2 separate regions of the Homo sapiens genome follow, and region 2 is linked to region 1. The links are contacts of gene promoters, found by promoter capture Hi-C in blood cells and fetal thymus (Javierre and others, 2016). All regions are on one chromosome and are shown on one strand. Each heading gives the region's core, a stretch centred on a gene start or on the middle of the fragment in contact. The rest is flanking DNA. Distances are from core to core; before and after follow the strand shown. Region 1 holds the start of SURF4 (surfeit 4). Region 2 holds the start of BRD3 (bromodomain containing 3).

Region 1 (4,616 bases), core at 1-2,500:
TTTTTTAAACCACACATATACAAGCCTTCCGATAAGTCTAGGCCTCAGAGTTTGATGACTCACTACCACCTCCAGAAAAATTTAAAAATTTAACCATCACTACTTAAAACTCTAGCAAAGCCACACGAACACATTAAGTAAACCGAGGAAAAAACGGCAAGTGGGCCACACAAGGCTCTCCCTGCGGGGATAAGGCTGTTAATTTGTCGACATAACGGGATTCTTTTAGAAGTAAAAGGCATAAATCTGCGTAACCACCACCACCTTTTGTTTTTGTTTTTTTGTTCTGTCAAGCTTAATCAAGAAAGAGGGAAGGGAGTTGTGTCCCTTCACTTTGTAGGATCGGATCCTGTCCACCCAGTTCCCGAATGCTCTCAACAGTTACCCAACCGCCTGTTTCAAAGGCTTCCCTGTTGCTCAGAATGCCACCTGGACACTTCTGGAAGGAGACTATCAGGGAGATAGGCTTCCCCTCCTCCCAGGCTGTGTACAGGTCCCCACTCAATCCAGCCCAGGGCAGAGTCCAAACGGGGAGGGAGACGCAGACAGGGTCAAAGGGACCCCAAGAGTCCAGCACATCTGGGAAAGAGAAAAGGAAAAGGTGCTGTGGCTTCCTGTAGCTGGGGCGCACGCCAGCGCGCCCCCTTTCCTCTGGGAGGACCCCCGGCCCCCGTTCGTCCCCGAGCTCCCAGCCCGCCTCCGGGAGCCCCAGTGAGAGGAAAAACGTGCGGGGACCCCCCAGCAGCTCCAAACGCCGAGGCGCTCCCCGCGAGCCTCAGACCCGACCCAACGCCAGGACTCGCGCCGCCGGCCCGGGAAGAAACCCCCACAGCCCGCGCCCCGGGCTGGCTGGAGGGTGGGGGCGGCTAGCCAGGCAGGGCGCCGAGGCCCGGGCTCCGGGAGCGGCCCAGCGGGCAGGGGAGACTGGGCCCGGAGGCCGGGTTTGGGGCTGTCCAGCCGGGACAGAGGGCCCGGGCGGGGGGGTCCCCCTGTGGGAACAAGGAGTCAGGGGGCGGCCCGGGCCTGGCGCCCTGCGCTGGGAGGCCGACTCCGGAGCGGCCCGGGCGGCCTGGGTCGGGACCGGGGCCGGGGGAGGAGCCCGCAGGCCGCACCTGGTCGGCGAAGTCCTCGGCCGTGCCCATCAGGTCGTTCTGGCCCATGGCGACGGCGGGAGGCTCGGCTCGGCTCGCTCGCTCGCTCGCTGGCTCTCGCCCGTCGGCGCCCGCACCCGCTGCGGCCTCCACAGGAAGTGCCCGGCGGCCGGCCTCGCTCCGCGTCGGCTGCGGCTCCAGCGGCTGCCACGTAGGCCAAGCCTTAAAGGGGCCGCGCGCCGCCCGGGCCCGCCCCGGTGCGTCTTAAAGGGGCCACGCGCCATCCCCAGCCTCCCGACCCATCCGCTCGAAGCCACGCCCGCCGCGCTCGACGCCACGCCTCTCACGCTGGAGGCCCCGCCCGCCGCGCGCAGGCCCTGCGGTCCCTCCCGGCCCGGCGGAACGCGTCCCTTTTAAGGGGGCGGGGACCTGGGGGTCTGGGGCCAGCGCGCGGGAGGGACGCCTGAGTGCCTCGAGGGCGCCGTTCGGGCGGGGAGGATCCCGCGGGTCCCACTGACCCACGCGGGGTGGGGCCAGGGGTGGACGCTCGCCCGTACGCGGTCGCTACTGATCATGCTTGGGCCAGGGTCCAATCGCAGGCGCCCCACGCAGGGGGAGCGAGGCCCAGGGTCCCCCGGAGAGCCCATGGAGAAGTACCAGGTGCCGAGTGTTCCCTGCGGGGAGGCGGGAGCTCCGTGGGGTAACGGTCGCAACCCTGGAGCTACGGCCGGCGGTTCCGACCGAGGGCGGCGAGGGGCCCGCGCCCTGGCCAGTGTCGGCCTGCAGCTCCTAGGTTGAACCCGGGGGGCCTCCAACGGTGACCTCCTGGGTGCCCTTTGCCACTCAGTTTCCCCCTTTGTGAATTGACTAAGGATTCTCCAGCCCTGGCTGAGTATTTGAGGGCGTGGGGCAGCTCCTCTATCCTTCGTGCCTGGGGTCTGTGCGCTTGGGTCCACCGAGGCAGGACCCCCGGGAACATCCCGAGTACATAATTGGGAGCCCCCAGTCCCCTAAAAACACCCCTGCAGCGTGGGTCTGTGAAAATGTTTGAGACCTAAAAAATTCACAAAACACAAAAGGAAAGCTGCAAAATAAAAGTAAATGTTTAATTAAATGCTTCTATACATGATATATACACTTTATTAAATGTTAGATTCAGCATTTGTGAAAAATGCATTCGCTTGGAAACAGTTTGCGGGTTAGATTTTTGTCACTTTGGAAGAATTGTCTTTGTGTGAGAGGACTATAGGGCGTTGCCAGAGGTGAAGCAGATGAGCTTCTGGTGGCCAGATAATTTTTAAAGTAAAGTTGTTTTTCAGATTAAAAAAAAATAGACGTTTCAGGAATATACCTGCTTTTGGAAAAAAAAATAGACTTGATTCGAGATACGGCTCCATTTTACTGTTTAATTTGCTGCCTAAGCTTGAACGCTCTCACACCAGCTCTGCCCTCAGCCCGCTGTGGCTTAGAACAGCAGTCCCTGGCCGGGCTCGGTGGCTCACGCCTGTAATCCCCAACACTTTGGGAGGCCAAGGCGGGCGGATCACCTGAGATCGGGAGTTCAAGACCAGCCTGACCAACATGGAGAAACTGTCTCTACTAAAAATACAAAATTAGCCAGGTGTGGTGGCGCATGCCTGTAATCACAGCTACTCGGGAGGCTGAGGCTGGAGAATCGCTTGAACCCAGGAGGCAGAGGTTGTGGTGAGCCAAGATAGCGCCATTGGACTCCAGCCTGGGCAACAAGAGCAAAACTCTGTCTCAGAAAGAAAAAAAAAAATAGCAGTCCCCAACCTTTTTGGCACAAGGGACCAGTTTTGTGGAAGACAATTTTTCCACAGATGGAGGCGGGAGGATGGTTTTGGGATGATTCAAGCACATTACACTTAGTGTGCAGTTCATTTCTATTATTATGTTGTAATACATAATGAAATAATTACACAACTCACCATAATGTAGAATCAGTGGGAGCCCTGAGCTTGTTTTCTTGCAACTAGACCATCCTCTCGGGATGATGGGAGACAGTGACGGATCATCAGGCATTTGTTTCTCATAAGGAGCATGCAACCTGGATCCCTCACATGCACTGTTCACAATAGGGTTCACACTCCCATGAGAATCTAATGCTGCTGCTGAGCTGACAGGAGGTGGAGCTTGGGTGGTAATGCGAGCCATGGGGAGCGGCTGTAAATACAGATGAAGCTTTGCTCCACTGCCTGCTGCTCACCTCCTGCTGTGCAGCCTGGTTCCTAACAGGCCACGGACTAGGTTGGGGACCCCTGGCTTAGAATATCCAGTGTCATGAGCAGGCTGCTCACAAGGCTGGATTACAGACTCCTAAGACTTTTATGGGCTCCGAGAGTCCCTAGGCTCAGGCTTCCATCCTCATATCTCCTCCTCTGGGTCCTGCCCTCCCTCCCCCAATCCTCTGATGAATGTCAGCCTCCAGCAATCCCCGGCCCAGCCCCCTGCCCCATAGCACTTGGTCTCTGCACAGAGTTCTGGCTTGGTGGCCATCTCTCCAGATTTGGCTCAAATCACAGGCTCTAAGATCAGACCCCCAGAGTTACCCCAGGCAGTGTCCTGCTTTCTAGTGACATAGCCTCAGGCAAGGACCTAGCTCCTTGTGCCTCAGTTTTCCCCAATGTAAACACAGAGGTAGCAATGGTGTCAACTGCAAAGGGTGGCTGTGAAGTGCTTGGCACCATGCCAGGCACACAATGGCTTCCTGATTGTACCAGTCACAAGATTGGTTACTTTCTTGTTGGAAACCAGTTGGGAGGTGGATGCTGGAAGTTGAGGTCACAGAGGTCTATAGAGAGTGAATAAGCCCTTTTTCTCTGGGAGGTTCTTGCACTTGAGTGCCCAGCTGGTCCTCATTGCAGGTTGGGGGAGGGATACAGGGTTGTAGAAGAGCTCCAGAATCGGCCCCAAATAGGTGAGATCAGAGTTCTGCCATTGAAAGGCTTCTTGCCCTCCTTGGGCCATTTCCTCTATTGCAAGATGGGGTGGAGCCACTTGCTCTGCCAGCCTGACAGGGGAGTTAGCAGGGCCAGAAAAGGAGTTGGAGCTGGGCTTTTGGAAAGGGAAAAGTTGTGTGCATTTCCTGAAAGCTTCTCTCTTCCTTGCTGATAGGTTTTGTACCAGCTGAATCCTGGGGCCTTGGGGGTGAACCTGGTGGTGGAGGAAATGGAAACCAAAGTCAAGCATGTGATAAAGCAGGTAAGAGGCCAAGCCTGTGCATCCCATGCCGGGTGGTTCTGTGACTGTGATTTTCCCCAATACAAGCTCTTCCCATGTTGGAGAAGCTTCCTGATGCGGCAGCTGGATTCCTCGCTGCTGACACTTGCGGAGACTAATCTGGTTGGGGTAGATGTGGGGGTGCGTGAAGCTCTGTCACCTTGATGGGGAAGCAATGCTAATTTTTACTCCAACACCACCACCTCCCACCATTTACGCATCACGTGCTGTATGCCAGGCACTGACTCACTTCATCTCCCGTCAACCCTGTAAAGCAGAAACAAT
Region 2 (4,669 bases), core at 1,806-4,305, 690 kb after region 1:
CCCGCAGGCTCACACAGCTGCCCCTTTGCACATTTTGCTCCTTGTGGGATTGTCAGGCCAAGGCTCCAGTGACGCATGGCACAGGGAGGGCATCCTCTCAGCCGCTTATAGTAGATTCTTCCTTCTGCCACATGACAGGTTATAGCTACAATACTCAGCACTCCTGCAGGGGCCGGGCACCTCACACAGATGCATCTGTGCCTCATCTCGGTCAGTGCTCACACGGAGGCTAAGGCCGTCCCGCCCCAGAGTCCCACAGCTCCCAGGTACCGACTCTTAGTCCCAGGTCCTCACAGGTGCACTGAGGGCACTCCCTCTGCCCCAGACTCCAGGCCTGGCCAGCAGCCGCCTCTGCAGATCACACCCGAGTCCACTGGGTGCTTTGCAAAATGCTGCAGCTGGTTATCAAGCCACACTCAGAAAGATCCAGCCGGCGACTCCTGAACATCACTGCACCCTCAGCGGGACACTTTTCCAAGTGGCTGGAAAAGTTGTCTCCCACAATACCGGATTAACTTCTGACGAACTCAGTACCTTGGGGGCCTGCGGCAAGGAGGGGGGCGGGGGCATGTTCCACGCCCCATCTTCCCAACACCAGGCTCCGAAGGCCCTGTGAGGAGGCAGCCTGCGAACTGACTCTCAGGGAACAGCCACAGACTGGTGCGAGACGCAGACAGCCAACAGCACGGACACAACAGGGTCCGAGCCTCCAGCCACACGCACAGGTCCTGGCTCCACTGCGAGCTCAATCAGGAGTGGCCAGAAGACTTACAATTTAAACCACCAACAGGTGAATGGCCCAAAGTGACACTTTCTCTTTAAAAGAGCTCTCGGTCAGGCATGGTGGCTCACACCTGTAATCTCAGCACTTTGGGAGGCTGAGATGGGTGGATCACCTGAGGTCAGGAGTTCAAGACCAGCCCGGCCAACATGGCGAAACCCCATCTTTACTAAAAAATTAAAAAAAATTAAAAAAAATAGCCAGGCGTGGTGGCGGGCACCTGTAATCCCAGCTACTTGGCAGGCTGAGCCAGGGAGAATTGCTTGAACCCAGGAGGTGGAGGTTGCAGTGAAGGGAAATCATGCCATTACACACCAGCCTGGGCAACAGAGTGATACTCTGTCTCAAAATAAGTAAATAAATAAATGAGCTCTCAAGCATCTTGGCCGAGCATGGTGGCTCACGCTTGTAATCCCAGCACTTCAGGAGGCAGAGACGGGTGGGTCACTCACGGCCAAGAGTTTGAGACCAGCCTGGCCAACATGGTGAAACGCCATCTCTACTAAAAATACAAACAAACAAACAAATAAGCAAGCCCTCAAGCCTCTCAGATGGCAGGAGCCCAGGAACCAGAGCAGGGAGGCCCGGGCACAGGGGCCCATGATGTCTGTGCCCATGATTTCACAGGAAGGAGAATAGGCAAAGAAAACCCTATGCTCCGCCACCAGCTGGGCACCTCTACAAGGTGGCAGTACCAACAAAAACACAGGAGCAAGGCCATTCTTGGCAAACGCTGACCCAAATGCACCTGGCACCCCATCATGCTTTGCTACCTGTGCATCTCTTCTGCTCCAACAAGGGGGCGGAGCCACAGGGGTCGGGAAGGCCCAAGGCAGACCCGCAAGTTCCAAAACCTTTTACGGCAAGAAGCCTTGCATTCTACCATGATTCATCCAGTTACCTTCTAGCTTCAACCAGATACTGGCTTCGTGATATAAGGGACCTGCTGGCTAGGCACGGTGGCTCATGCCTGTAATCCCAGCACTTTGGGAGGCCAAGGCAGGTGGATCACGAGGTGAGGAGTTCGAGACCAGCCTGTCCAACACAGTGAAACCCTGTCTCTACTAAAAATACAAAAAATTAGCTGGGCGTGGTGGCGGACGCCTGTAATCCCAGCTACTTGGGAGGCTGAAGCAGGAGAATTGCTAGAACCCGGGAGGTAGAGGTTACAGTGGGCTGAGATCGTGCCACTGCACTCCAGCCTGGGCAACAATGCGAGACTCCATCTCAAGAGGAGAAGAGAAAAAAAAAAAAAAAGGAACCTGCCTAGGACAGGAACCCCGTCAGGTCAGTTATACTTTGATGACCGGTCAAGGAAGCAAGAGGAGGATCCTCTGACCAACTGCGTTAACTGCTTTGAAAACCAAGAGACCCGCAGCACGACTTCAGGCATGCCCCCACCTCCCAGGCAGCAACGCTGGGAAGAGTAGGCCCCGGTTCCCCATACCCCGCCCCGGTACCGTGTGTATCCACAGCAAAACATGGCTCTTCCCATCGACAACTGGGCATAGCTGTTGGTTTTGTGCCAATCACCCCACTTGGGAAACCCTGAGCCACCATGCCTCAGGGAAAGTGGTGGCACTTCCTGGTGGCACCAGGAATCGCACAAGGCCATCACTGCCGCCTGGTGCACAGGGCTCCCGCGGCTGGCATCTCCAGAGCCTGGAGGAAGAGGGTAGAGGAAGGTAGCACCGGCTGCAGCAGGCCTGGCTGCTTCGCTCTGCACACCCCCACTTTCACTTTCTGGGTATGACTACTTCGGAGTGTAGGGCAGGCACTGTTTGCAAGTCCCGTCCTTCATTCAAAGCTCACTCACTTCCGAAGCAGGCGCGAGCTGTTGTCAAAGGAAAGTAATTACTCTACTTTCTAAAAACAAAACAAAAATAAAAATGGAGTGACTGCCCACTCGGAGAAAGCTTTTGAAATCCCTCCTCCCCGGATGTCCCAACGGCAGGGCTCAGGCTGGAGCTGCTCCCACAGTCTTTCCAGGCACCCGGTGCCCTGCTGAGGCACCGGGCCTCTGAGGCTACCCGGAAGGTCAGAAAGAAATGCCCCTCGCTCGCCTGCAGCCCGTCCTGTTACAGCGTGTGCCTTATCTTTCATGATCAGTAACCACCAGCACCCATCAAGGCCTCAACAGAGAAAACGGCAAACACAGACCTTTATTTGCAAATGAGAGGCTGCATCAGGGCTGCCAGGGAAGAACCCGGAGGGAGGGCTCCCTAACCCCCGAGGCCAGCCCCTTGCAGGGGTTCAGACCTTCCTTAGACCCCGTTGGAAGCCAGTAACAAACTACTTTCCCCAGAAAAATGCCATACAACTTTGCATAGATTCCAGGATCTCCCCAGGCATACTACATGGACCCAGGAAAAAAAAAAAACCCTCCATTTTAAAGAAAAGAGTAAGGGGAAAAGCCTACAAAAGAGCAGGGTAAAAAGAAAACTCTTTTCCTCTTCTGTTCCTTCTCACAGGGTAGGGCGGGGGAGGACGGGACACACGAAGCTGCCTCTTGCAGTTCCAGCCCAATTACTCTGCCCACCAATGCACTACAGTCTCCCCTCCTGGTTAACTTTTGCAGACAATGACCAAGTTTAATGTAAGGGGGAGAAATCCCAGTATCTATTTCTGAGCAGAAAGCTTTCAACCAAAATTAAAGATCGCAACCACTCAAGGATTGGGTCGAACGGAGGAACCCACACGATGGACGCCGGGTCCCTGCCCCCGGTGGGTCTCGGCGGGCCGAGTTCTCGCCCTCCAGGGAAAGGAGGCCGCGCGAAGCCCCCATCCCGGCCCTGCCCCCGAACGAGCAACCGGTGGAATAAGACTTCCCGCACGCCCCAGCTTTATTCACAGAGAGCCCACCAGGGCCATGTGGGTGTACACGGTTCGGGGTGCGCATTTCTCCCCGGATGGGCTTGTATCACGTTGTCACTCCGGCGCCCCCCAAAAGTGGGAAGGAGGGGAAGCACCCCCGTCCCTCCCGCTCCAACTCGCCCTCGCCCGGATTAAGCGATTTTCAGGCTGATTTCAAAACGGGAACTGGGTCTCCCCCTGGTTTGGGTGCAATAATCCGGCAACTCAGGGGGGCTCAAAGTCAGCTCTGGGCCCGTAACTCTGGGAGGAGGCCGCGCAGAGCCCAGGGCCGAGCCCGGCCTTGCCCCCCGCCCCGGCCGCGGCGCGCGGCGACGGTCCCCAGGCGCGGGCCCCAGCAACGGCTCGGGAGCGAGGCCGGCGGAACAGGCGCGGGGAAAGTGGCCCCGCGGAGCGCACGGCCGCAGGCCGGGGCCGCCGCGCGCACCTTCCCCCTCCGCGTCCTCCCTGGGTTCCCCCTTCGAAAGATGGCGGGCGGAGGAAAGGGGGAAAAAAATCCCTTCCGTGAGGGAGGGCGCGCGGAGGCCGGGCTGGCGCGGGGCGCGCGGGCCGCGCCAACTCCGGGCTGCGCGCCCCGGCCGCAGCGACGCCCCGAGTCCGGGACGGAGGCGGCCAAGCGGGAGCGGGAGGAGGGGAGCGGAGCCCGCGCCACCGCCGCCGCCACCGCCGCCGCGACCCCGGGCGGCCGCCGCGCTTTGTTGCATCGTGGCCGCGCACAAAGGCGGCGGCGGCGGCGGCGGCCCCGGGCGCCCGGTTCACCCGGACGCGCCGGCGGACTGCGCGGGGCGCTCGGGGCCGCGCTCCCCGGCCCAGCCCGGCCCGCCGCCGCCCGCGCCGCCCGCCGCCCCGCGCGCGCAAGGAAGCAAGAGAAAGGCGTACTTGGCCTCGCGGCTCCGGCGGCCGTCCCCTCCCGGCCCGCGCGGCCGGCTCCTCTTTGGCTCGCCGGCCCCGGCAGCATAATAGACGCGCCGGAGCCGAGCAGGGCTCATGCGCTGCGCCGCGGCGCCTGGCGGGAGT

The links. The method cuts DNA at HindIII sites, captures the fragments that hold promoters and counts their contacts. A CHiCAGO score of 5 or more calls a contact.
Region 2: a contact is called between a fragment that was not itself captured here and the fragment with the promoter of SURF4 in region 1, in 1 of 17 cell types (fetal thymus). The highest score is 7.9, in fetal thymus.

The regions. Positions count from the first base shown.
Region 1 is chr9:133,374,810-133,379,425 of GRCh38, forward strand. SURF4 (surfeit 4) reads right to left here and starts at 1,251. Exons shown (of 6, transcript NM_033161.4): 1 at 1,113-1,251. The coding sequence starts at 1,160. STKLD1 (serine/threonine kinase like domain containing 1) reads left to right here and starts at 1,557. Exons shown (of 18, transcript NM_153710.5): 1 at 1,557-1,751; 2 at 4,227-4,313. The coding sequence starts at 1,665. RefSeq lists silencers at 676-955, 966-1,205, 1,296-1,795. The HindIII fragment of the contact is 2,219 bases long and covers 293-2,511 here.
Region 2 is chr9:134,063,414-134,068,082 of GRCh38, forward strand. It overlaps BRD3 (bromodomain containing 3), which reads right to left and starts at 4,613. Exons shown (of 12, transcript NM_007371.4): 1 at 4,532-4,613. RefSeq lists an enhancer at 1-87 and silencers at 4,059-4,308, 4,489-4,669. The HindIII fragment of the contact is 721 bases long and covers 2,696-3,416 here.